Linked DNA regions of Homo sapiens: all the other regions are linked to region 4. The links are contacts of gene promoters, found by promoter capture Hi-C in human tissues and cell types (Jung and others, 2019). All regions are on one chromosome and are shown on one strand. Each heading gives the region's core, a stretch centred on a gene start or on the middle of the fragment in contact. The rest is flanking DNA. Distances are from core to core; before and after follow the strand shown.

What was found. Contacts are between HindIII fragments. The study calls those that stand out against the background at their distance.
Region 1: a contact is called between the fragment with the promoter of TOR1B here and the fragment with the promoter of DOLPP1 in region 4, in 4 of the 25 tissues and cell types used here (heart right ventricle, lymphoblastoid cells, mesenchymal stem cells and 1 more).
Region 2: a contact is called between the fragment with the promoter of ODF2 here and the fragment with the promoter of DOLPP1 in region 4, in 1 of the 25 tissues and cell types used here (spleen).
Region 3: a contact is called between the fragment with the promoter of URM1 here and the fragment with the promoter of DOLPP1 in region 4, in 1 of the 25 tissues and cell types used here (dorsolateral prefrontal cortex).
Region 5: a fragment that was not itself captured here is called in contact with the fragment with the promoter of DOLPP1 in region 4 in 1 of the 25 tissues and cell types used here (hippocampus).
Region 6: a contact is called between the fragment with the promoter of PRRX2 here and the fragment with the promoter of DOLPP1 in region 4, in 1 of the 25 tissues and cell types used here (mesenchymal stem cells).

Annotation. Positions count from the first base shown.
Region 1 is chr9:129,801,442-129,804,596 of GRCh38, forward strand. TOR1B (torsin family 1 member B) reads left to right here and starts at 1,743. Exons shown (of 5, transcript NM_014506.3): 1 at 1,743-1,970; 2 at 2,632-2,897. The coding sequence starts at 1,772. RefSeq lists silencers at 1,823-1,952, 2,013-2,132. The HindIII fragment of the contact is 20,911 bases long and covers 1-3,155 here.
Region 2 is chr9:128,454,487-128,457,641 of GRCh38, forward strand. It overlaps ODF2 (outer dense fiber of sperm tails 2), which reads left to right and starts at 1,520. Exons shown (of 21, transcript NM_001351578.2): 1 at 1,520-1,769. The coding sequence starts at 1,606. RefSeq lists enhancers at 593-1,329, 1,203-1,292, 1,330-2,065, 1,423-1,472, 2,066-2,801 and 1 more and silencers at 1,693-2,002, 2,133-2,232, 2,263-2,412, 2,623-2,672. The HindIII fragment of the contact is 20,941 bases long and covers 1-3,155 here.
Region 3 is chr9:128,369,644-128,372,785 of GRCh38, forward strand. It overlaps URM1 (ubiquitin related modifier 1), which reads left to right and starts at 1,731. Exons shown (of 5, transcript NM_030914.4): 1 at 1,731-1,772. The coding sequence starts at 1,738. RefSeq lists enhancers at 38-902, 903-1,766, 1,830-1,929. The HindIII fragment of the contact is 22,131 bases long and covers 1-3,142 here.
Region 4 is chr9:129,079,777-129,083,304 of GRCh38, forward strand. It overlaps DOLPP1 (dolichyldiphosphatase 1), which reads left to right and starts at 1,335. Exons shown (of 8, transcript NM_020438.5): 1 at 1,335-1,431. The coding sequence starts at 1,356. RefSeq lists a silencer at 1,033-1,762. The HindIII fragment of the contact is 10,069 bases long and covers 1-3,528 here.
Region 5 is chr9:128,547,183-128,550,651 of GRCh38, forward strand. The region is part of intron 1 of LOC101929270 (a long non-coding RNA gene); the gene reads right to left. Among named protein-coding and RNA genes, the nearest start is that of SPTAN1, 3.7 kb to the right of the region's middle. The HindIII fragment of the contact is 3,897 bases long and covers 1-3,469 here.
Region 6 is chr9:129,664,038-129,667,504 of GRCh38, forward strand. It overlaps PRRX2 (paired related homeobox 2), which reads left to right and starts at 1,610. Exons shown (of 4, transcript NM_016307.4): 1 at 1,610-2,089. The coding sequence starts at 1,831. The HindIII fragment of the contact is 13,961 bases long and covers 252-3,467 here.

The DNA of each region.
Region 1 (3,155 bases), core at 493-2,992, 720 kb after region 4:
CTGTTGTTTTCTGCCTAAAACACTCTACTCATTTTTTGCCTGGCCTAACTCCCTCAGTGCCCAGCTTAGACAAAAGCCTTCCCTGTACCACTGTCCGATACTTCTCTGCCCACTCAGCATTGAGTCTCACCCCTTTGTCGGCCTCCCCCATAGACCGTCAGCTCTGAGAGGGCAGGGGCCAACTCCGTCCCCTCCTCTGCTGTCGTTCCTGGCATCCAGCAAGGGGCCTGCCACCTAGCGTGCTGAATGAAAGAATGGACCTCGGGATTTCAGTGTGGAAGCCTGGGCAGGTCTGTCTTGGGGCCGCTGCATCCCCAGTGCTCAGTCTAGGGCGCAGCACGGAGAGTTCGCAACTGTTTCAGGAAGAAGGCAGGCGGGTGGGCCGACCCAAGAAACGCACATTATACCTCCGGCGAAGTGAAGGGAGGGATAACAAAGCAAAGCTTGAGGGCTCCGAGAAGCTCTGAAGAAAACAAATCCAGCCATAAGCCCACTCCTGTAACCCCAGGCTTTGGAAGACGGAGGCAGGTAGATCGCTTGAGGTCAGGAGTTCGAGACCAGCTTGGGCCACATGGCGAAACCCCGTCTCTACTAAAAACACAAAAGTTGGCTGGGCGTGTTGGCGGGCACCTATAATCCCAGCTACTCCAGCAGCTGAGATGGGAGAATCGCTTGAACCTGGGAGGAAGAGTTTGCAGCGAGCCGAGATCCTGCCACTGCGCTCCAGCCGGGGCGACAGAGCCAGACCCTGTCCCCAATATACATATCAGATAAGAAAAAAATATAAGAAAGTTTAAAAAAATTTTTTTTGGCTTTTTTTTGTTTTTTTTGAGACGGAGTCTCGCTCTGTCGTCCAGGCTGGAGTGCAGTGGCACGATCTCGGCTCACTGCAAGCTCCGCCTCCCAGGTTCACGCCATTCTCCTGCCTCAGCCTCCCGAGTAGCTGGGACTACAGGCGCCCGCCACCATGCCCGGCTGATTTTTTCTATTTTTCGTAGTGATGGGATTTCACTGTGTTAGCCAGGATGGTCTTGATCTCCTGACCTCGTGATCCGCCTGCCTCGGCCTCCCAAAGTGCTGGGATTACAGGCGTGAGCCGCCGCGCCCGGCCAGCCTTTTTTTTTTTTTTTGAGACAGTTTCGCTCTTGTCGCCCAGGCTGGAGTGCAGTGGCACGATCTCGGCTAACTGCAACCTCCGCCTCCTGGGTTCAAGAGATTCTCCTGCCTCAACCTCCCGAGTAGCTGGGATTACAGGCGCCCGCCACCACACCCATCTAATTTTTTGTATTTTTAGTAGAGACGGGGTTTCGCCACGTTGAGCAGGCTGGTCTCGAACTCCTGACATCAGGTGATCCGCCCGCTTCAGCTTCCCAAAGTGCTGGGATTACAGGCGTGAGCCACGGCGCCCGGCCAAAAAAAAAAAATTTTTTTTTTTTTTTTTAGATATTTTTTCACTCTTGTTGCCCAGGCTGGAGTGCAATGGCGTGATCTCGGCTCGGCCTCCCAAAGTCCTGGGATTACAGGCGTGAGCCACCGCGCCCGGCCCGAAAAAATTTTTTTAAAAGAAAAGGGAAACAAAACAGTCTCCTACACCTTCGGACCACTCCCAAGAACGATGGCACCGCCCTCCTCTCCGCCCCTCACCAACATGGCCGCCCCCAAGGGAGTGGGCGGGTCTGCGGGGCGGAAGTGACGCACGAGAGGAAGTCCGTCCTGCCGCTTGGCCGCGGGGCGCCTGGCTCAGTGGCTTCTGCGGGCTTCGAGGAGCGGGATGTTGCGGGCTGGGTGGCTCCGGGGCGCGGCGGCGCTGGCGCTGCTGCTGGCGGCCCGAGTGGTGGCGGCGTTCGAGCCCATCACCGTGGGCCTAGCCATCGGGGCCGCGTCGGCCATCACCGGCTACCTGTCCTACAATGACATCTACTGCCGCTTCGCCGAGTGCTGCCGCGAGGAGCGGCCGCTCAACGCTTCGGGTACGGCGCGCGCGCGAGCTGTGGGTCGGCGCTGCGGGGGGCGCGGGGGCGCGGGGGCGCGGAGGGACGGCCTCGTGGGCGCCTGGCACGGACCGGGCCCGTGGCATCTAGACGGCGGTGGTCCCAGCTGGGGTGGGCGGGGAGCGGATGGGGCGGCCCCGGAACCGTTCGCGGGAACGCAGAAGCGGTGCCTTCGCAAACAGTCTCCAGATCGTGGGGCTGCCCCAGCGCCTTTCTAAAGCTCCCGTTCCTTGGGATCACAGGTGGAAGAAACGGAAAGTAGGCGGGCGGCCCTTCTGCGCCCTGCCAACCCTATTAAGTAGTTTTCAGACGTGCTGCGTCGCCCAGAAAGCCCACATTTGGCCCCTGGTTTTCCTGCAGGTCAGCAAGGGTGGCTGGGATTAGCAAGCGCTCAGTCAAGCGATGGTTCATCTCTGAATGAATGAACATTTAGCTTCCTTATCAGACCCCGAAGCGTTAAGGACCTCCACATAATCTTGAAAGTGGCATCGTTTGACTGCCTCGGCCCTAGGGTGTGGCAGACACCCTGCTGTGTCCCTGGATAATCTGTGCTTCTTGCTTTGGCCAGCTAAGAAAGTGCTGCGTTGCTGATGCATTTTTAAGGTCTGTTTCTCTCTTTGTTCTGGGGCTGTTCTTGCAGCTCTCAAGCTGGATTTGGAGGAGAAGCTGTTTGGACAGCATCTAGCCACGGAAGTGATTTTCAAGGCGCTGACTGGCTTCAGGAACAACAAAAATCCCAAGAAACCACTGACCCTTTCCTTACACGGCTGGGCTGGCACAGGCAAGAATTTTGTCAGTCAAATTGTGGCTGAAAATCTTCACCCAAAAGGTCTGAAGAGTAACTTTGTCCACCTGTTTGTATCGACTCTGCACTTCCCTCATGAGCAGAAGATAAAACTGTACCAGGCAAGAGAACCCGCTATTATCTCGTCTGCAGGCCAGTCGGACTGGTCCGGGTGACCTGCTCACTAACTCTGGCCTCTGCTTCTCTTTCCTTTGTGTTGCTGTAGCCCCCGGCTCCACTGAGTTAAGGCACACTTAGTCCAGGTAGTTACAAAGCTCTCCTACAACATTTCTCTTACTTGGTTCCAAAACAGTCCAGTGGGGTAGGGGATGTTATTTCCATTAAAAGATGGGGAGCCAAGGGCCTGGCGCCGTGGCTCA
Region 2 (3,155 bases), core at 270-2,769, 630 kb before region 4:
GGAGGACCGGGACCTCCTTTTCCTGTCCTCTTTTCCTTGAACCTGTATATACTTTTTTTTTTTTTTTTTTTTTTTTGAGACAAGAGTCTCACTCTGTCACCCAGGCTGAAGTGTAGTGGTGATTTTGGCTCACTGCAACCTCCGCCTTCCAGGTTCAAGGAATTCTCCCTGCCTCCTCCTCCCTAGTAGCTGGGATTACAGGCACACACCACCATGCCCGGTTAATTTTTGTATTTTTAGTAGAGACGGGGTTTCGCTATGTTGGGCAGTCTGGTCTTGAACTTCTGACCTTAGGTGATCCGCCTGCCTCAGCCTCCCAAAGTGCTGGGACTACAGGCGTGAGCCACCGCAGTCTTAAATGGTTAATGAGGATTAGGAAATCTATCAATTATTCAACAGAGAGACAATGAATGGATCAAGGGATTGGGGAGCTCCCTGACATTACAGAACAAATTCAGTATGCAGTATACTGTGAAAGCGAGGCGGAAAAGCAGGTTTTGTTTGCGAGTCTGACTTTAGGATTGCAGGTGAAACACTTGTGTGACCCTGGAGCTGTGTGGCTAAGGTGCTGCGGGGTCACTGGAGAAAGGTCAAGGGACTGTGGCCCAGTTGGCCCGGAGGTGGTTCAGGTCTCCCAGATTCCAGGGCGGCATTATGAGCCACGTGACAGACCTCCCCTGACTGGCTGACAGTGAAGCATAATTGAGAAGATGGCGGACCAGCAAGGACCTCATCAGAATAGGTCTGTACACAGAGCGGCATAGAGAGTGCAGGAGGGTAGTAGACCGGGCGCGGAGGCTCAAGCCTGTAATACAAGCACTTTGGAAGGCCGAGGCGGGTGGATCATGAGGTCAGGAGATGGAGACTATCCTGCCCAACACGGTGAAACCCCGTCTCTACTAAAAATACAAAAAAAAATTAGCCGGGCGTTGTGGCGGGCGCCAGTAGTCCCAGTTACTCGGGAGGCTCAGGCAGGAGAATGGCGTGAACCCGGGAGGCGGAGGTTGCGGTGAGCCGAGATCGCGCCACTGCACTCCAGCCTGGGCAACAGAGCAAGAATCTGTCTCAAAAAAAAAAAAAAAAAAAAAAAAAAAAAAAAAAAAAAAAGTGCAGGAAGGTAGTGAACAGAACAGCAAGGGGAATGCCGACCCTTTCTCCTGTTGGGGCCAAGACAGAGGCGATGTGGGCAGGGGAGAGGCCGGGGAATGCGCAGAAGCCGACTCCATCTCCGCATTAATAGTGGACTAGGGGCAGGGCTGGATTTTCGGAGGCAGTGTGCAGCTCCCAATAACTAGTTCCATGGGTCCTCTGTGAGCCTAGTTTCCTGGTGGGTACCGAGGGGAGGGCGTCGGAACCGTACGCTCCTTTGAGTGAGGGGAATCCGGGAGGATCCAAGGCAGGGGAAACAGGGCCGAGCGGGAAAGGCCTTGAATGGGGGGCGAGACCCGGCCAGGCCCGCTGGACGCGTAGCACGTCTCCTTGGTGACGGGACGCGTGGCCCGGAAGTGGGCGGCCCTTCTGGCGGGGCGGGGCATCTCTGTGACGCTAGGGGCTGGGCCTCGATGGCGAAACCCAAGCGGCTCCCGGGGGGGTTTGAACTGGCCAATGGGCGAGCTGCCGACCGGGTGTCGGAAAAGGAGGCGGAAGCGGGGAGGAGCCGCTGCCAGAGCCAGACTGCATCCGCCGCGGCGTCTCCATGGCACGACCCTGGCCTCCGACTTCAACGACTTCATAAGGCGGCGTTTCTGGGCGCAGCCGTGTCGCTCCTGGTGAGAGGCCGCCGGCAGGCGGGATCCAGCGCCCTCCGGGGCACCGCGGGCGAGACCGTCGCCTTCGCACCCCCGGCGCGGTCGACCCCGCGGGGCCGTCGGGTCCTGGGTTCCCCGCCGCGTTGCGCTCGTCCCCCTCCTGTCAGAACCTGGGCCCCCGCCCCGCCCACCGGCGCGGGGCCTCTCCTCCTCCCGCTAACGGGCGGTCGGCCGCCTCCTTCCTCTCTTGGCTACCACGGGGCTCTGCCCCTCCTCTGCCGCCCGCGGGCAGGGCTTCACCTTTCTCTCTATGGGCAGAAACCGGTACCCTCCTGCCTGCTGGTGGGTGGCCGTCCCTTCTCTCCGCCGACAGAGGCTCTCCCTCGCTCTGCTGCCCGTCGGCGGCATCGCCCCGACCGCCTCGTCCTCTCCTCGGGCCTCCACATGGCAGTCACTTGTACGCCCTCCGTAGGCAGCGCTGTCCCCCGGGCACCGTCTCCGGCTTGCCAGGGCCCTCGCCCGGCGGGGGGGGGTCCCGCCCGCCCCCTCCCAGCCCGGCGTCTATCCTGCTCAGAACTCTGTTCGGTTTTCCCTCGCGGCGGGGCGCCCGGGGCCCGTGCAACCTCCGCGCCTCCCTCCTTTAAACACTATTGGTCCTCTCGGGCATCTGTTCTTCCGTAACGCCCCTTCTCCTAGGAGACAGTTGTCCGGCCCCGCCCCAGCATCCCCGCGGCTCCCTGCGCGGTTCTGGCCCTCTGGGGCCCACTTGGGGCCGAGCGGTTCTCACCCGCCCTCTCCGCACGTCCGCCGGCGCCTCAGGTTTCCCCCGGTAGCCACCGGCAGTCCTCCGCGTGGGACCCGGGCGCGGTGGTCCTTTCCCTCGCGGTTCTGCCCCGTCCCCTCCCCTTCCTCCCCTCTGCCCCCAGGTCGCTCAGCCTCTACTATTTCCCCCTACTTTGGCAGGACAGTTGCTGTGCGACTTGGACAGTAGAGGAGCGCCTCCCAAGTTTTCATCCAACTGCCAACCCCAAAGCTTCCACCCTTCTCCCCTCAGAGAGGACGTTTGATGCCGGGCCCCTTGAGAGGCTCATTGACAAGCCTGCCCCTCTGGGTCCCCCTGAGCAGAGCCTGCTGACCCAATTGCCCACCTTTGCGGCTTTGATGCCTAGCCATGTCTGCCTCATCCTCAGGCGGCTCCCCCAGGTATTGCCGATGTGGGAGGCGCCTGCGCCGGAGGGCAGGGAAAGGTGGCCAGGGGTCCCCAGGGCAGGCTCGCCTGAGGCTTCCAGCTTCCTCATTGTGTTTGCTGAAAGTCTGGACCAAAACGTTTAAAAATCGTTTTTAAAGGGAAGGGGGAACGAAATGTATACACAATCCTAGCTCTACCTCCCTCGCTCCTTCCCTCCC
Region 3 (3,142 bases), core at 481-2,980, 710 kb before region 4:
CTCTGTCGCCCAGGCTGGAGTCCAGTGGCACGATCTCGGCTCACTGCAACCTCTGCTGCTTCCTGGGTTCAAGGGATTCTCCTGCCTCTGCCTCCAGAGTAGTTGGGATTACAGGAGACTGCCACCATGCCTGGCTAATTTTTGTATTTTTAGTAGAGACAGGGTTTCACCATGTTGGCTAGACTGGTCTTGAACTCCTGACCTCGTGATCCGCCCATCGTGGCCTCTCGAAGTGCTAGGATTACAGGCATAAGCCACTGTGCCTGGCCAACTTCATTCCATTTCTGCCCTGGGCTTTTTTTTTTTTTTGAGACAGAGTCTTGCTCTGTCACCAGGCTGGAGTGCAGTGGCTCGATGTCAGCTCACTGCAACCTCCACCTCCCGGGTTCCAGCGATTCTTCTGCCTCAGCCTCCCGAGTAGCTGGGACTACAGGCGCACGCCACCACATCCAGCTAATTTTTGTATTTTTTTAGTAAAGACAGGGTTTTGCCATGTTGGCCAGGATGGTCTTGATCTCTTGACCTCGTGATCCGCCTGCCTCGGCCTCCCAAATTGCTGGGATGACAGGCGTGAGCCGCCGCGCCCGGCCTGCCCTGAGCCGCCGCGCCCGGCCTGCCCTGAGCTTTTGCAACAGGCTCCAGTGGTCTCCGTGTCTCTTTCCTTATTCCCCTCAAATCATTCTCCATATTGCAGCCAGAAATTATATTTTAAAACACAATTCTAAAATGTCACTGTCTCCCAAAACCCTTCAGTAGTCTCCCACTGCTCCTAGAGACTGAAATGTTTACCTGCTTACAAGGCAGGGGTTGGCCCCTGAGCACCTTTGCAGCTCCCTCTCTAGATGGATGAAAGTCAGGCTCCCTAACTTCCACCTTCCTCTCCATGTTCCAGCATGTTCTCACCCAGAGCCTCTGGGCCTTTTGTCCTCCTCACTGGAATGCTCCTAGAGGTTTCTCTCCCCTCACAGCCACCTAGTTTACTCAGGTTTTAGAGCCCAGCAAGTCCAGTCTACTCAGTTTTCTTTTTGAAGTTCCTATAACTTCAGTTCCTTTATTTAAGTTTGAGGTTGTACATGTCTTAGTATGCTTATTTGATTACAGTTAGTCTCCCCGCTAGACTGTGAGTGCCCTAAAGGCAGGAACCTTGCCCATCCCCTTTACCACTAGCACCGATCAAAATGCCTGGCACAGGGAGGCGCAATGAACAGCTGTTGAACGAGTGACTTCCAAATCGACAGCAAAGGGGGCGGCTGGATAGCGAGTCGCCCGCTCAGGAGAGATTCTGGGTCGGAAATAAAGATCTGGGAGTCATTTATAATTCCAACCAGACGAGTAGATGGGCTGGCCCAAGCGGTGTGTAGACTGAAGAGATTCTAACTCATGCAAGATAAGCAGCTACGTGGCTCACGGTCACGTCGCAAAAAACCTGGGGGCTCTCCTCCGCCTGCTTGTGGTCCCGTACAAGGCGCTTCCCACCCTGGGTCTCTGAGCCCAGTCGGTGAAAGACGGAAGGAGACCGATTCACAGCCCCAACAGCGCCGGTGATAGTCCCTCTGCCACCCCTTTCCCTCCGCTGCCCTCCCCTCCCCTCCCCTCCCCTCGATGACTTCCTCCAACAGCTGACGAAGCTGGATCCCTGGGCACCGCCTCTTCCGTCCGCGGCACCCGGAGACGCCCGGAAATTTGCGGGCGCGCCGGAAGTTGAGGGGAGTTTCCTGCGAGCTCGGCTTCCTCAACATGGCTGCGCCCTTGTCAGTGGAGGTGGAGTTCGGGTGAGTCACAGAGCTGGGGCGCCGTGGGGATGGATTGAAGTCGTCGGGCCCAGAATTCCTTTCCTTCTGCCGTGGGGCCTGACACGGCCGAATCACTGGGTGTCCCAGTGCCCGCTGTGAGCTACGCTACCCGCCTAGGAGAGTCTGAGAGGCCAGTCTCTCTTGGCAGTGAGGCCGTCTGTCCGGAAATAGAGGCGCACATTGGGAGGGAAATGCTCTCTGTGTACCACTCGGTGCCCTGTGCTCCGCCGGAGTCGGAGGTCGTGACTGTTAGCAGGCAGCCTCTCTCTCTTCTTTTCCATTCCTATCTCGGACCAATCCCATCTGTTTGGCATCTGAGCTCCTAGAACCTAGAAGGACCACCCTCCACCCGCTGATTTCATTCTTTGGGCAGCAGTTTCTTTTTACACTGTTATTAAGGTCTTGTTTCTCGTGGGATGTAGTGGCCAGGGCGGGACTTTTTTCTTTTTCTTTCCTAAGACTTGGGGATGGTAAACAGACCTGAGCCTCCTTCAGGACAGTCAGTAAACTTGCTGATTGCCTTCTGCAGAACTGGAGTCAGGTGGAGACACGGGGACAAATAAGAAATCACACTGAAGGGAACTAACAGGGACAGTATAGTATACACAAGATGAAAAATGCAGAGATTGGGACACACACCAGTTACTGAAGAAACACAGAGCAGGGAGGAAGTCTACCCAAGGCACTATTTGTGCTTCCTACAAACAGGTTTGTCATATGGTTTCAAAGCTGAGGGAAACTGCAGAGCTTAGAGAGAAGGCAAAGAAACAGGCCTTGAAAGATGGGTGGTGTACTTTACAGTATCACGTGGAAAAGAGGAAATAGGTAGGGATGTGTGTGTGTGTGTGTGGAATAGGTAGGTGTGTGTGTGTGCCTGTGTGTGTGTAGATAAGCCAAGGTCTATGTGACAGGAAAAGTCTGGGATGGGAATCTAAAACCTCTGCCCAGTGCCTTTCTTCTCATTGGATGCCTCCCATTTCTTTCATGTTTTCCCTTAATTGGGTAGTTCATTCACCAGCCATTTATTGAGTGCCTACCATGTGCCGGGCAGCAAGCCAGACACTGAGGATACAAAGATAAATAGAAGTCTGTCCGTGCCCTACAGCGTTCAGCATTTCTGCCCCTTAGAAGGGGGGTAAGTCTCATGACTAAGTGCATTTTAATTGATATTGTCTGGCTGCTTGGATCCAATTAGAACTGTATTGGTCTGGACTCCTCACTGTTTTGCCTCACTGACCCTTGGCCCAGCTACACTCCCCAAAGCCTGGGATTCTAGGAGGATCCCTGCTTCCTTGACAGGCCTCAGCAGAGCTGGAAAGAGAGAAGCCACAGACTGCTGTGTTAAGATT
Region 4 (3,528 bases), core at 85-2,584:
TGCACTCCAGCCTGGGCAACAGAGCGAGACTCCGTCTCAAAAAAAAAAAAAAAAAATTAGCTGGGCATGGCGGCTCACGCTTGTAATCTCAGCATTTTGGGAGCCGAGGCAGGTGGATCACCTGAGGCCAGGAGTTCGAGACCAGCCTGCCCAACATGGTAAGACCCGGTCTCTACTAAAAATGCAAAAATTAGCCGGATGCGGTGGTGCGCGCCTGTAGTCACAGCTACTCGGGAGGCTGAGACAGGAGAATCACTTGGACCCAGGAGGCTGAGCAAGATCGTTCCACTGCACTCCAGCCTGGGCCTCAGAGCAAGACCCTGTCTCAAAAAACAAACAAACAGACAAAAACAGCACATGCTAGCGGCAGGAGACAAGAGGCTGAGCCCTCCCAGCCCACCTTACCTGCACTGTAATCCAATCCAGCCAGAGACAGAGTCGGGTAGGAGAGGTGAAGGCGGGTGGGAAGGTGTGGCTGTTCACGCAGGAATGTCTTGGGAAAACTGAGGGGTAGGTGGAAAACCGACTTCTTGTTTGAAATGCTCCCAAGACGCCTCATTAAGTAGCATAGACGTGACTGAATCAATAAATCTTTATTAAATGAATGAAAGGAGGAAGGAGTCCTTAACTGTAGCTAAGCTTCCACTCTTAAGTATCAATTAAGCTTCTCTGTTCAGTCCAGCGTTTAGGGCGCCTACTGCGCGCCCCGCCCCACACACTTTTGACAAAAAGGTCGCCTGCTCTGTGTGACTTGCCCTTTCGCCGGCCAGTATGGGGCAGAGGGAAATAAGCCCCCTCTGCTCTCTGGTCTCAGTTTACTCGTAACTGAAAGTGGGTCGGTTCAAACCCCCTGGAGCTGAGGTTGCCTCTCCTCTTCGAGCACGCGCTATCGGACGCGCAGGTCCCCAAGACCGCGGATCGGCAGGGGGTACCAGGGAAGCCTTCATTCAGGGCGCAGGTCCCAGCCGAACCAAAGCTCCCACCAAAGTTCAACACGCCCCCAAAGCCAGCGCCTGATTGGCCCGCCCTGCCCACAAGCTGAGGCAGCCTCACCTTCTGATTGGCTGTTATGCTCCCTGTTCGGTGCTGGAACCCTCCCCTTCTCTGATTGGCCAGATGCCTACCTGCGCTCGCCCCAGATTGGGCGCCAGCTGGGGCGGCTCGTTGGCTCCCAGGGGCCCCGCTCTCTGATTCGCCGCTCGGGCCAGCCCCCACGGCCTGCACGCTGAATGGCTGCGCCGCTACCTATATTGGCCTCCGATTGGGTGCACGGCGCCTCCCCGGCGTGATAGGTCAGGACCACCGCCCCCCTGGCTCCCCATTGGCTGCTCGAAGAAGCCCGGTCTCCGGGTAAGATGGCAGCGGACGGACAGTGCTCGCTCCCCGCTTCATGGCGGCCGGTGACCCTCACCCACGTCGAATATCCTGCAGGTAAAAGGCGGTCCCGGCTCCAAGGACGCCTTCCCAGGGACGGCCTCTCAGTCCCGGGCGCTCCGGCCTGCTCGAGCCCGCGGAGGGGGCGCCGGGGGACCGGGGTGGGAACTGTCAAATAGTGAACCACGGAGGGGCTCGGCCGGCGCGCGCGCCGCGCAGGCGCAGTGGTGCGAGGATGAGCTGGGCGAAATTGTGAGGCGCTCGCTCGCGCACTCTGCGGCTGCGCGGCCAGGGCGCTCCCCCGGGTCCCGGGGCGCCGGTGGGCTGAAATGGGTTGAGGATCTGTGTGAGGCGAGAAAAGATCCCTGGCCTGGACCTTGGCCCTTCTTCCCCGCCCTCCCCTGTCCCAGAGAGGCCGCACTCCTGTTCCAGCGTGCAGGGAGTGTCTTGTTTCCTTCGAACAGTGCTTTGGGCTGCTTGTAAGAGAAAGAGCTCCCCGTTGCTGGGAGTGTGCAAGCCGAAGCCAGGCTTTTGAGTACTTGTGGTGCCACGCCCTGAGCAGGGCACGATTCCACAACAGAGAGGACCCGATGAGGGGGCGGGCAGCCTCCGGGAACTTGACTTCTGTTGCTTCCCATCAGACACACCTCTCGAAGTGCAGGGCTTTCCAGTTGAGAGGTCCATTAGCGGCGTTCTGGAGGCTGTCTAGTAAGAGTGGCGCAGAGCCTGGGCGTGGGGGTCAGACCCATCTGGGCTCCAGTTGAGGCTGAGGCCTTGTGCAGGTGCCTGCCTCTGCTTAAGTTAATTCATCTCTAAAGTGGGACTGATTACAGTGCTTACCTTCTGGTGATGGTATGAGCATCAAATAGCAGGAGGCACAAGAAGGGCTGAGTACAGTGCCCGGCATGCAGTAAGCGTTCAGTAAATACCTGCAGTTAATGTTATCCCACCTTGCAAGACCCTCCCTGGGTAAGATGGTTGAGTGCCAGGGAAGGCTGGAGCCCCTCATTGAGCCCTGGTTGCCTGGGAAGGGCCTGCTCATGCTGCTGTCTTGCGAGATGTGAGAACCTGGGTCCGCTGAGGGCACCAGGACTGAATGCCAAAGAACGTTGACGCTGGTGTTCTGGGTTGTACTGGGGGTGGTATGGCCCTGCCAGGTCCTGGGCCCTGCCTGCCTGCCTGTCTACCATTCATTCATCCATTCATTCATTCAGTCAATATCCACTGAACACTTCTGAGTGCTAGGCCCTGGGCTAGCTCTGGTTTTTAGAATGCTTAACAGGCCTGAAATATCCCTGCATTCCTGCACTATGAAAACCAGCTGCTTTATAAGAGGAAAGCCAAAGCCTGGAGGTGGGGAAAGACTTGCTAAGGCCTCTGCACCTTCACAGCTTCCCCTCCTGGCCTCAGAGTAGCTTCTTGGAGTGCTCACAATCCAACAAGCCAGAAGGAACCTGGCAGGCAGTTGTGTGCAGCATGATACAGGCTGTGATGGACCTGGCTGAGCCTGGAGCATCTGGTGAGGTCTAGTCCCCTATTAATGCTTCCATGGTTCCCTGCACTTCTCCGTCACACCCCTCTTCACACCGTCACTTGCTTACTTCATTCATTCAACAGTTTTTGAGCCCAGTTAAGAGCCAGGCCCTGTGCTGGGCTTGGGGGATAGAGTGGGATATAAAGAGACCCTGTCTCTACTCCCAGATGCTGTCCTGATATCTACATTAGTGGATCATGAACTGAGTCTGGATGGCAGATTCTCCCGTCAGACCTCAAGCTCTGCACTAGCAGGGACATATGTGTCTTTTTTTTTGCCACTGTGGTGGGTTCTTAGTTGTTTGTTGAGTTCACCCAGAGAGCGTCCCAGGTGGGGGGAAACTGTGTGCAAAGGTCCAGAAGTAGGACAGGGCACGATGCGCTCAGGGAACTCGAGTTTGGTCCTTGGAACTGGAGCAGAGGTTGAGAGGGAAGCAGGGCCAGGACTGTGCAGGGCCAGATGAGCTGGGCTGAGGGGGAACTTGTCCTAAGGGCAGTGGGAGGCCTGAGGGGGCTTGGATCAGAGAGTAGAGAGGCCAGAGTCCCTGGTAGCATCTTCAGGAAAACCCCAGGGTAGTGCTGGCTCTGGGACAGGCTATGGAGATGGCTAAAGCTTTGGGG
Region 5 (3,469 bases), core at 583-3,082, 530 kb before region 4:
TACAGATGCACGCCACCACACCCAGCTAATTTTTGTATTTTTAGTAGAGACGGGGTTTCACCATGTTGGCCAGGATGGTCTACATCTCTTGACCTCGTGATTTGCCCACCTCGGCCTCCCAAAGTACTGGGATTACAGGTGTGAGCCACTGCGCCCGGCCTGAAAATACTATGTTAAAGGTGAAGTAATCAATGATTACTTACCTACTTGGCAGAATGGGCCAGGTGTGGTGGCTCATGCCTGTAATCCCAGCACTTTGGGAGGCCAAGGCGGGCAGATCACCTGCGGTCAGGAGCTCAAGACCAGCCTGGCCAACATGGTGAAACCCTGTCTCTACTAAAAATACACAAAAATTAGCTGGGTGTGGTGGCAGATGCTTGTAATCCCAGCTATTCGGGAGGCTGAGGCAGGAGAATCACTTGAACCCGGGAGGCGGAGTTTGCAGTGAGCTGAGATCATGCCATTGCACTCCAGCTTGGGCAACAAGAGCGAGACTCAGTCTCAAAAAAACAAACAAGAATGGCAGAATGTTGATAACTGTTGGAGCTGGGTGACAGGCCTATGGAAGTTCACTGTATTAGGGTCCCCAGAGAAACAGACCAATAGGAGACGGATGGATGGACAGGGATATGATGAGATTTAATTACGAGGAATTTATTCATGAGATTATGGAGACTGAGAAGTCCCACAATCTGCCATCTGCAAGCTGGAAACCCAGGAAAGCTGGGGTTGAAATTCTAGTCTAGAGACGAGGTTTCATCATGTTGGTCAGGCTGGTCTCGAACTCCTGACCTCAGGTGATCCACCCTCCTTGGCATCCCAAAGTGCTGGGATTACAGGCGTGAGCCACTGCGCCCAGCCTATAATTCTTACTTAAATGGACTGAGTACCATTCATGTAACCTAAAATTCAGTAACACTTCAAATATTTTCTCAAGTCAATAAGTATTATATCATGAATATAGTCTTGAATTTATGAATCGTAATTAATCATTTTTCACTTGGTGACTAGGTTATGCCTAATATATTTTTTTAAATTATTAACATTCTTTTTTTTTTTTTTTTTTTTTTTGAGACAAGGTCTCACTCTATTGCCTGAGCTGGAATGCAGTAGCACAGTCATGGCTCACTGCAGCCTTGACCTCCCGCGCTTAGGTGATCCTCCCACAGCCTCCTGAGTAGCTGGGACTACAGGCGCAAGCCACCACATCTGGCTAATTTTTGCATTTTTTTGTAGAGATGGGGTTTTGCCATGGTGCCCGGGCTGGTCTTAAACTCCTGGGCTCAAGTGATCTGCCTGCCTCAGCCTCCTAAAGTGCTGGGATTGCAGGTGTGAGCCACCACGCCCGTCCTGAATGAAAATGCATCTTGTCCTGCTTAAGGCAGATTTCTAGATGTAACTAACATTGCTGGGTCAAATGGCATGCAAATTTTATATTTTGATCCACATTGCCAACTGCTCTTCCAGAAAGGTTCTACTTACATATACTCAAAATGGGTAAGATTTTCAGGCAGAAAGGAGGCATGAGTGTTGGGAAAGGATGTTCTAATTGGAGGAAAAAATTGTTCACAAAAGCATGGAGTTGGAGAAATAACATGTTTTGGAAAGAGGCTAACCTCAGACCAGTAGAGCAGAACTGTAGGGAATGATGCTGTGAAAAGGTAAATTGGAACAAGATTGTGGAGGCTGCAAATTTCGGCCTATTCCGTAGGCAATGGGAAACAACTGAAACTTGTTGAGAAGGTTTGACGTGATTTGTGAAACTAACTGTAGTAGTGGGTTCAAGGTAAGCAGGAGGGACACGGACTGACCAGGCCTAGCAGGCAGCCCTGCAAGGGAACAGATGTGAAATGACCGGAGCCAGATTACAAGGTCGGATTAGGGGAGGGGAGGGAGGAGTTTACATCTCTGCTGTCACCTGGAGTCTTAAAACCCTGGTAAGGCCACACTCCCAGAGCCTATCAGGCTGCTTCTCTAATGTGGTGCTTGATTTTAGAAGCAGGGGCTTGTGTTTTGCTTTGTCTTTTGATTGTAGTAAAATATATAGAACATAAAAAGTTTAACCTTTTTTTTTTTTTTGAGACGGAGTCTCAATCTGTCGCCCAGTCTGGAGTGCAATGGCGCGATCTTGGCTCACTGCAACCTCCGCCTCCCGGGTTCAAGCGACTCTCCTGCCTCAGCCTCCCGAGTAGCTGGGATTACAGGTGTGCACCACCACACCCGATTAATTTTTGTATTTTTAGTAGAGGCAGGGTTTCACCATGTTGGCCAGGATGGTCTCAAGCTCCTGACCGCAAGTGATCCGCCCGCCTCAGCCTCCCAAAGTGCTGGGATTACAGGCGTGAGCCACCAAGCCCTGCCTAACCATTTGTAAGTGTACAGTTCTGTGGCATTATGTACAGTCACAGTGTTGTGCAACCATCACCACCATCCTCTCCAGAACTCTCTTTCACCATCCCAGACGGAAACTTTCCCACTAAACAATAATAACCCATTCCTCCCTCCCCTCAGACCCTGGTAACAACAGTTTTTTCTGTCTCTATGAATCTGACAATTTTAGGGATCTCATATAAGTGGAATGGTCATACAGTATTCATCCTTATGTGTCTGGCGTATTTCACTTAGCATAAAGCCTTCAAGGTTCATCCAGGCACTGTGATTTGAAGAGCTGTGTTATTTCTTGCCAGCTCTGACACTGCAGAATGTCATATGGGAAGTGCAGTCCACTTGCCAGCATGACTCTTCCCAATCAGCTCCCTTCTAGGGAAGAAAAATAGTGGAAGTGCTTGCCTGTTATCTTTGCAGGGGGTGAGACAGGGTGTGGAGGGGAGGGGAGGGGAAGGGGTCTCTCCCAGGGAGAGTGGGCAAGTGACTTTCCCTGGCTGGAACATATGGACACATCACCACAATTAGTGTGTTTTCCAACAGTTGACCTTTTCAACAACCTGAAAAAGTATTGGGACTATCTAGACGCTTAAGCTTAGGGTGCCTATCAAACCTTCTGAGGATTGCTGAAACTAGAAAAAGGAGTTGAGAATTCAGTCCAACCCTCTGCTTTTTAGGAGGCCAGGAGAGGTGTGACTGAGAACATGGAGTTGATTGGTTACAAAGTCGTTACACTGTCCTGTGCTTTTTCTGTTGTTGTTTTTTCCCCCAGCTTTCCACACCTACTAGGGTGTTAGGCATATGGTGAAACTGGTGGGAGGTGAGGTAGGCAGACAACAGAACAGTGAAGAATGGCTGGTTTCAAGTGCCAAGTGCAGAGAAGGCAGGGTGAGTGGGTGGGAGGTGGAGAGCGCTGGGGATACTGTTTCTTGGTCATGTCTCAGATCACACAAAGAATCAAATAAGATTTTAGTTTCTCTATCAATACAGAGCTCTCTCTTAGGTCTCCATTTTGCATCCAGCAAAAGCAGCAGAACCCCCAGTTCACTATGGGGCCAGGGTGATTTAATAGAAAAACCCTCCC
Region 6 (3,467 bases), core at 360-2,859, 580 kb after region 4:
ACCTCCGCCTCCCAGGTTCCAGCTATTCTCCTGCCTCAACCTCCCCAGTAGCTGGGATTACAGGCGCCTGCCACCATGCCCAGCTAATTTTTTTTATTATTATTATTTTTAGTAGAGACAGGGTTTCACCATGTTAGCCAGGCTGGTCTCGAACTCCTGACCTCAGGTGATCCACCCACCTCAGCCTTCCACAGTGCTGGGATTACAGGCGTGAGCCACTGTGCCCGGCCTACTCGGCCTCATTTTGAAGTCGATTCCTTTCCAGCGCGGGAGGGGGTGGGGGCGGACACAAACAACACACGCTGTGAGGATTAATGTATTATAATGTATTGCTAGGCTTTCCTTAAAAATAGTGTTCCCGGCTGGGTGCGGTGGCTCACGCCTGTAATCCCAGCACTGTGGGAGGCCGAGGCAGGTGGATCACCTGAGGTCAGACGCTGGAAACCAGACTGGCCAACATGGTGAAACCCCTCCTCTACTAAAAATACAAAAATTACCCGGGCATGGTGATGCACACCTGTAATCCCAGCTACTCGAGAGGCTGAGGCAGGAGAAGCGCTTGAAGTCAGGAGGCGGAGGTTGCAGCGAGCCGAGATCACGACACTGCACTCCAGCCTGGGCGACAGAGCCAGACTCTTGTCTCAAAAAAATAAAAATAAATAATAATAATAAATAATAAATAAAAATAATGGTCCGCAGGCTTTCAGGGATGTGTGCGGGCCGGTTTTCCATATGGGAACAGGGAAAGGATGTGCTGAAGGCTTCCTCCGGTAGGCGACTTTGGCTGATGTGACTTTATGCCTCGTAGTGAGGGCAGGGCGACAGAGGGACGGGCCGGTGAGCGGCTGTCCTGGAGAAAGAGCAGTGGCATCCGGGGGGCTTAGGGTCTCAGGTCTGCTCACTCCGCACATCTTTTCTGTGCTTTCATTGAAAAACAAAACTGAAACAAGAGCGGACACCTAAGTCTGCCTCTCTCTTTCCTGTCACCCGTCTCAGGCTGGCTGTCCTCTGTGTGTGCGCCAGGAATTCTGCAACGAAGCGCCTGCCTCTCCGCTTGGTTTTCCTTGGGGAAGGGCCTGGGGCCTCCTGGGGGGTGGGCACCGGGTGTGTGGGTGTGTGTGGGGGACCTGGCAGGGAGCAGCGGGGGAGAGGCGGGGTGGGGGGTCGCGTACACCCCAGGAGCCTGAGGATGCGCTGCCTGCTGGGAGAGACAGCCTTGGGGCGGGTGGTGTGCACAGAGCTCTGTCGGCCAGCGCGGGCGGGCGGGGCCGTTGTTGGGGGCGCTGAGGCGAGTGAGGCTGGAGCTGGGAGTGGGGGGCTCGTCGCCTTCGTCTCTGGGCCGCCCCCTCCACCTGCGGAGGCGATTGTAAAGGGAAGGGGGGAATCCCTCTGCCATCACCTCCCAGATACTTGGGGGATGGAAAACGACAAAACACGGAACCTCCCACTCCCTAAAAAGTGGGTGGGGAGGGTGAAGGGAGGACACCCCTTCCCCGCCCCCAGCGCCAGCAGCCGGGGTGGGGGCGGGCGAGGCGCGCGGGGAGGAGAGGGCGGAGGAGAGGACGGGGGGCGAGGTTTGCTTCAAGAAGGGGCGTGTGGCCGGCGCAGCGCGTGCACCAGCGGCTCCGGAGCGAGCGGCCGTGGCTGAGAAGGGGAGGGCGGAAAGTTTGTTTCCCCGACGTCAGCGCCGGGCGGGCCGCGAGGCTAGGAGGCGGCGGGAGCTGGGCAGAGCGCGGGGCGGCCGGGGCTCTCGCTCCGACCCGCGCCCGCGACCCTTCCTGGGACCCGAGCCCGAGACCCCCGCCGGCCCCCCCGGGGCCGCTCGCGGGCATGGACAGCGCGGCCGCCGCCTTCGCCCTGGACAAGCCGGCGCTGGGCCCGGGGCCGCCGCCGCCTCCACCCGCGCTGGGGCCCGGCGACTGCGCCCAGGCGCGCAAGAACTTCTCGGTGAGCCACCTCCTGGACCTGGAAGAGGTGGCGGCGGCCGGGCGGCTGGCGGCGCGCCCCGGGGCCAGGGCCGAGGCGCGGGAGGGCGCAGCACGGGAGCCGTCCGGGGGCAGCAGCGGCAGCGAGGCGGCGCCGCAGGATGGTGAGTACGGCCGGCCAGGGACGGGGGTGGCGGGGCCGGGGCCGGGGCCGGGGCCGGGGCGCGGGGTCCGGGGAGCCGGCGCGGGGCGGGCGAAGATGCAGGGCGCGTGGTCGGCGGCAGGACTTCTGGGGGCGCGTGTAAGTGACGGTGGACGGCGGTTGACCAGCACTCTGGGCTGGGGGAGGGGGACCCTCTTCGGGTCTTGGGGTGCGTCCCCACGGGGAAGTGCGCTGCCTTCGCTCCCCAGTATTCGGCTCCCGAACAGCCTGGGAAGTGGGTGTGGCTGCTGCCGGGTTACAACTGGGGAAACAGAGACCTGAGTCGGGCAAAGCCGCTGAGCTGCACGTTGGGGTTTCAAACCCGCCCCCTCCCGCACGAGCTAGCGCCGCCCCAGCTCCTCCTCGGTCTTAAGTTGGGCTCTTTGGGGGGCGAGGGTGCCTGCCCACCCCCCCCCACCCTCCAGTTTGCCCCGGGAGCAGCTGCCTCGGTGGAACGGCCCAGCCAGGCCTCTCTTCCCCGGCAGAGGTCAAAGGTCATCAGGAAGGGGCTTTAAAAACAAACAACCCACCCAAGTGGCCTTTTTCAAAAAGTGACACAGGATGGCAGGGTCCTGAGCCCTTGGTAAGAAGGGGAGGGACGGGGAGAAGATGGAGAAAAAGCAAAGGCCCCAGCCCCGGACGGTTCAGTGGGGGAGGGGAGGACCGGAGTCCTCGCGGCTCAGCACACACTAAGGATGGGGGCCCGGTGATCTGAAACCAGGCCCCTGTCCCCTAGCTCTGGGGATGGGCCGGCCTGCTGGGGGCTCTGGGCCCCTGAAGTGTGCCCGCCTGACTCCAGCAGCCCTCCCACCCGCCCCGGGGGACCCTGTTCCCGGCACCAGCCTCCAGGTCTCAGGGTGCCCAGGCTGGTGGCTGCGTTCCTTGGCTTTTCAGAGACAGGAGGTGCAGGGAAAACAGAGGTGGCTGCAGCCTAGTCTGAATCCATGTGCGTCCACGAGGACGCCTGCGACACGCCTGCCTTTCACGGGGCACCTTCTGCCAGCCTGTGGCTGAGATGAAGCCACTGGCTCCCTCATGGCAGCGGCCACCACTCACTGGCCACAGTGGACTGGCCACTGGCTGCACCCTCCGGGGTGAGTGTGAAGCCAGCAGACCTCCCAGGAGTTGGGGTTTAGCTCCTCAGTAGAAAAGGGGAGGGAGATGTCCACTCTGGCCCGGAGGAAAGCAGGTGCCCTCTGGTTTGTGCTGGGGGAATGCCCTGCCGGCCCAAGGTCATTTGAGGACCTCAGCGGCTCTGAGCCGGTCCCCCAACCCCAGGACAGAGGAGAGGTCCCGGTTTACCCTGATGAAGGGAGACTCCAGGGGTTGGGAAGAGAAGG